Linked DNA regions of Homo sapiens: region 1 is linked to region 2. The links are contacts of gene promoters, found by promoter capture Hi-C in blood cells and fetal thymus (Javierre and others, 2016). All regions are on one chromosome and are shown on one strand. The core of a region is centred on a gene start or on the middle of the fragment in contact, and the rest is flanking DNA. Distances in the headings are between cores, read along the strand shown.

Evidence for each region. Contacts are between HindIII fragments. The CHiCAGO score rates a contact against its expected background, and 5 or more counts as called.
Region 1: a contact is called between a fragment that was not itself captured here and the fragment with the promoter of HOMER3 in region 2, in 2 of 17 cell types (erythroblasts and monocytes). The highest score is 5.7, in erythroblasts.

What each region holds. Positions count from the first base shown.
Region 1 is chr19:18,641,264-18,644,148 of GRCh38, reverse strand. The region is part of intron 1 of KLHL26 (kelch like family member 26); the gene reads right to left. Among named protein-coding and RNA genes, the nearest start is that of KLHL26, 5.7 kb to the right of the region's middle. The HindIII fragment of the contact is 3,768 bases long and covers 1-2,885 here.
Region 2 is chr19:18,939,959-18,942,841 of GRCh38, reverse strand. It overlaps HOMER3 (homer scaffold protein 3), which reads left to right and starts at 1,625. Exons shown (of 10, transcript NM_004838.4): 1 at 1,625-1,791. It overlaps HOMER3-AS1 (HOMER3 antisense RNA 1), which reads right to left and starts at 2,588. Exons shown (of 3, transcript NR_134913.1): 1 at 2,218-2,588. RefSeq lists a silencer at 1,462-1,661. The HindIII fragment of the contact is 10,102 bases long and covers 1-2,883 here.

The sequences.
Region 1 (2,885 bases), core at 151-2,650, 300 kb after region 2:
CTACCTATAAAACTTGAAAACGGATAGAGACAGACTGCAGATTGGTGATTGTCAGGGGCTGGGCAATGGAGAATAGGGGGTTAGTGCTAATGAAGATGGGGTCACCTTTTGCGGGGACAAAGATGTTTTGGAACTGGACAGCAGTGATGGTTGCACAATTCTGTGAATGTACTAAATGCCACTGAATTGTTCACTTAAAGTGGGTGAATTTTGTGTTACATATATAGTACCTCAAAAACAAAAAACAAAAATACAGGTTGGGCATAGTGGTTCATGCTTGTAATCCCAGCACTTCGGGAGGCTATGGCAGGAAGATCACTTGAGCCCAGGAGTTCAAGACCAGCCTGGGCAACATAATCAGACCCCATCTTGGCCGGACACAGTGGCTCATGCCTGTAATCGCAGCACTTTAGGAGGCCAAGGTGGGCGGATAACCTGAGGTCAGGAGTTCGAGACCAGCCTGACCAAGATGGAGAAACCGCATCTCTACTAAAAATACAAAATTAGCCAGGCATGGTGGCACATGTCTGTAATCTCAGCTACTCGGGAGGCTGAGGCAGGAGAATCGCTTGAACCCAGGAGGCGGATGTTTTGGTGAACCGAGATCATGCCATTGCACTATAGCCTGGACAACAAGAGCAAAACTCTATCTCAAAAAAAAATAATAATAAGACCCCATCTCTATAAAATAATATATATATTTTTTAAGACAGTCTGGTTCTCTCGCCCAGGTGGGAGCGCAGTGGAGCGATCTCAGCTCACTGCAACCTCTGCCTCCCGGGTTCAAGTGATTCTCTTGCCTCAGCCTCCCGAGTAGCTGGGATTACAGGCACGTGCCACCAATCCTGGCTAATTTTTGTATTTTTAGTAGAGAAGCGGTTTCACCATGTTGGCTAGGCTGGTCTCAAACTCCTGACCTCAAGTGATCTGCCCACCTCGGCCTCCCAAAGTCCTAGGATTACAGGCATGAGCCACCGCGCCCGGCCCAAAACAATTTTTAAAAATTAGTCAGGTGTGGGCTAGGCACAGTGGCTCACGCCTGTAATCCCAACACTTTGGGAGGCCAAGGCAGGTGGATCACGAGGTCAGGAGATCAAGACCACCCTGGCCAACATGGTGAAACCCCGTCTCTATTAAAAATACAAAAATTATTTGGGCGTGGTGGCGTGCACTGGTAATCCCAGCTACTCAGGAGGCTGAGGCAGGAGAATCGCTTAAACCCAGGAGGTGGAGGTTGCAGTGAGTCCAGATTGTGCCACTGCACTCTAGCCTGGGCGACAGAATGAGACAATGTCTCAAAAAAAAAAAAATTAGGTGTGTTAGTAGATGCCTGTAGTCCCAGCTACTCGGGAGGCTGAAGCAGAAGGATAGCTTGAGCCCAGGAGGTCAAGAAGGCTGCAGGTAGCTACGACACTGCATGCCAGCATGGGCGACAGAGTGAGACTCTTCCTCAAACCAAACCAAACAAACAAACAAAAAACCACAAGCCGGGCGCAGTGGCTCACGCCTGTAATCCCAGCACTTTGGGAGGCCCAGGCAGGCAGATCACCTGAGGTCAGGAGTTCCAGACCAGCCTGGCCAACATGGAGAAACCCCACCTCTACTAAAAATACAAAATTAGCCAGGCTTGGTGGCAGGCGCCCGTAATCCCAGCTACTCGGGAGGCTGAGGTAAGAGAATCAGTTGCTTGAGCCCGGGAGGTGGAGGTTGCAGTGACCATGCCACTGCACTCCAGCCTGGGCAACAAAAGCGAAACTCCATCTCAAACACACACACACACACACACACACACACACACACACACACACACTAGGTGACTAGCAAAAGTGTCCTGGGGACTACTTGAGCTTGCATGGTCAGGCAGGTGGCTCTGAGGGGCCAGAACCTTGGAGAGTGGAAGGATGAAGAGGAAGGAGACGTGGGCAGGTTGAGGCGAGGAGGTGGGTCGTGCTCCAGGCCTGGCTGTCCCATTTGCAATAAATGAAGGAACAGACGAACAATGCTACAAAGACTCAATGTCTCAAAATGACTTTTGGGAGAATGTCTTGTACCAATCTCCCTCAAAATATGATCCATTTTCTGCATGCTCCATCTTGCCACATTAGGGGTTCTCCCCACACTAGCACCTGAGGCATGAGATGCCCCTATCAGTTGCTCCAAACAGTGATTTTTCACTAGGATGGAGGATAGGGGAGAATGACAAAGATGTCTTTTAAGAAAGAGGGCCGGGCATGGTGGCTCACGCCGTAATCCCAGCACTTTGGGAGGCTGAGGCGGGCAGATCACAAGGTCAAGAGATCGAGACCAGCCTGACCAACATGGAGAAACCCCGTCTCTACTAAAAATACAAAAATTAGCCGGGTGTGGTGGCACACGCCTGTAATCCCAGCTACTCGGGAGGCTGGGGCAGGAGAATTGCTTGAACCTGGGAGGCAGAGGTTGCAGTGAGCCAAGATCACGCCACTGCACTCTAGCCTGGGCAACAGAGCAAGCCTCCATCTCAAAAAAAAAAAAAAGAAAAAAGAAAAAGAGCCGGGTGTGGTGGCTCATGCCTCTAATCCCAGCACTTTGGGAGCCTGAGGCAGGCAGATCACCTGAGGTCAGGAGTTTGAGACCAGTCTAGCCAACATGGTGAAACCCCGTCTCCACTAAAAATACAAAAATTAGCCGGGTGTGGTAGCATGCACCTGTAATCCCAGCTACTCGGGAGGCTGAGACATGAAAATCGCTTGAACCCAAGAGGTGGAGGTTACAATGAGCTAGGATCGCACCACTGCACTCCAGCCTGGGCAACAAAGCGAGACTCAGTCTTAAAAAAAAAAAAAAAAAAAAGGCAACCCAACTTAAAAATGGCCCAAACATTTGAAAAGACACGTTACCAAAGA
Region 2 (2,883 bases), core at 376-2,875:
GGTGGAAGGAACAGTTTGGGCAAAGGCCTGGATGGGGGAAGACTCAGATCTTGGCGCAGGAGTCAATCTCCAAAAACAACCTGACCTGGAATTCACCTAAAGGTAATTTGAATGTAATGTAACCGCCAGCTCAGATATACTATTCTTCTTAGAAGGAAACAGAAATAAAGGAACAGGGAAAGGAGACAGGAGCAGAGGTCTTGGAGATGAAAAGCAAAAGCCTCTCTGAAGTTGTCAAAACACTCAAGTGTCGGCCAGGTGTGGTGGCTCACGTCTGTAATCCCAGGACTTTGGGAAGCCGAGGGGGGCAGATCACTTGAGGTCAGGAGTTCGAGACCAGACTGGCCAACATGGTGAAACCCCATCTCTACTAAAAATACAAAAATCAGCCAGGTGTGGTGGCATGCACCTGTAGTCCCAACTACTCGGGAGGCTGAGGCAGGAGAATTGCTTGAATCTGGGAGGCAGAGGCTGCAGTAAGCCGAGATTGTGCCACTGCACTCCAGCCTGGGCAACAGAGTGAGACTTTGTCTCAAAAAAAAGAAAAGAAAAGAAAAGAAAAACTCAAATGTAAGATCAGAGCTTTAGGGCGCCACAGGCCTTGGTTCCAGGGAGCTGCAGGACCTCTGTCCACAAACGAACCAACGGCGCCGCACCGTGTGATTTTGGAGACGGTGCCAGAGAGGGGGCGGCACCAGGATTGACAAGTGGGACACATGGGCTTGGGGCTGGGGAGGTGGATCCTAGTTCAACTCCGGAAGGATGCTCTCCTGGCAAGTGTGGGAAGGGGGTGCTCCCTGTGACCAGAGGTGACAAACGCAGGCCAGTGGAGGCTGAGGGGATGCAACCATGCGTTGGAGACATTTCCTCAGCCTTTGGATTTTGGAACCCTCAAACAACAGCAAAGATAACCTTAATCCAACCATTGTGGGCATTTTTACCATCGTCTTGGGAGGGACAGAGGTGGACAGACGTCCCTGCTTAGGGATGGGACGGGCAGGGGAACAGAGGCTTCTCTCTCTTTGTCTTGCTTCCCGTTCCCTCCCGAAGTTGATCTCTTCCGTTTCCTGGCAACACCCATTGAGCACTTACTGTATGCAGACCCTGAGACCCACTGCCCCCTCCCCAACCTCACTGGGCCACCCATGTCAGCCCGGGAGGGACCTGACCTCCCTCACAGGCCCAAAGTTATGACCTCAGGTAGTGGGGACAGAGGCAGCTGTCTCCTGAGAAGGTGACAGGAGGGTGAGGTCACATCGCTGTCCGTGCAACTCTCTCCATCTGCTTCCTATCTCTCCGCCTGTCTCCCCCGTGTCTCTGTTTCTGGGTCTCTTTCTCATCCCAGATGTCCCTCTCCGTCTGTCTCTCTGTCCCCACCCTCTGCTCCCAACCCGACCCCACGCAACCCCCCCCCCCACTCCCCCTCCACCGCCCCTAACCCCCTCCCTCAATCCTCCGTCCCTTCCCCAGTCCCGGCCCCCGCCCCTCCCCCTTATCCCCTCCCCCATACCCTCTCCCAGTGCAAAAAGCCGGCAGGGGGCGCAGCGGGGCGGCCTTGGCGGCCCGGGGAGGCGGGGCGGGCGGCGGCCGCGTCGGGACCGGCCGCGATGGGACCGGAGGCGGCGCGGGCGGCGGCGGCGCAGACAAAGGCACGGGCGGCGTGGAGGGCGGCGCGGAGGGCGCGGGCCCGGGAGCCAGGGAGCGAGCGGGGCGCCCGGCAGCGCGGAGTCAGCGCCGCGGGGGCCGCACCCGACTCGCGCCTGGACACTCGCGGGGCGCCGACCTGGCAGGGTGAGCCCGGCCTGCCGAGCCTGCGCTGGGAGCGCGGGGGCCTCGAAGTCCCAGGGCCAAGGGGAGGGCGTGGGGGTTCCCCAGAAGTTTCGGACCCGGGACTGGGAGCGGCGCGAGGGGTCCCCAAGTTCCAGGGCTGGAGGGAGCGCGGGGGTCCCGAAGTTCTGGATTCAGGGTCTGAGAGGGGACTGCGTGGGAGGTTCCCAAAGTTCTGGACCCGGCGTTGGAGGAGGCTGCGAAGAGGTCCCCAAAGCTGCGGACCTGGGGTGGGGTACTGGGGTGGGAGGGGTCCGGACGTCCCGGACCCAGGGACTGGAGGGGTGGCAGGGGGTCCTCGAAGTTTAGGAGTCTAGGACAACGCGGAGGACCGGGGTCCCGGACCCAGTTAGAGGAGGAGTCACGAAGGGAGTCCCCGGAGTTACCGACCTGGGGTTGGAGGAGGCAGAAGAGGTGTCCCCCGAAGTTCTGGACCCAGAGACAGGGGGCGTCGCGGGAATCTCGGAAGTTCCAGGGTCAGAGCCCGCGTCCCGGAGTTGGGGCGTGCACTGGGTGTCCTGCCTCGGGTGGGGATGGGATCCTGAATTAATATTAACCCCCCCGTCCCCCGCACTCGGGTGCATGGGATGGGGCCTCATCCACCGGCCAGATTGGGGATCCCGGGCACCGGGCGGTGTCGGACCCCCCTCCGGGAGCCCCGTGGCCGGCGGCATCCGAGGCGCATGACTAGTTGGTGAGTAACTTTCCCCAAACGCTGCAAGTCGCAGCAGGAGCTGCCGGACCGGAAGGGCCTGGGTTCCGGGGACCCCTGTGTTCCCCAACTCCCACCCGGCGCAGGACCCGCCCCCAGTCCAGGCCAGAGCTGCCGCCCCACCCCCACTCAGGGGCTCCGGTTTCAGACCCTGTGACCAGGACAGCAGCTGCCCAGGACAGGATAGGGGGGGCATCCCCCCTTTGACCACAGAGGCCGCTGGGCCAGGGCCTCCCCTCCCCCACCTGTCTTCCCCCTCCTCCAAACTCCTCCTTGGTCCCCTGCAGATTCGGGGTTGCTGAATGGCCCAATGGGGAGGTTGGGGAGCCCTGGTCTCCCAGTGT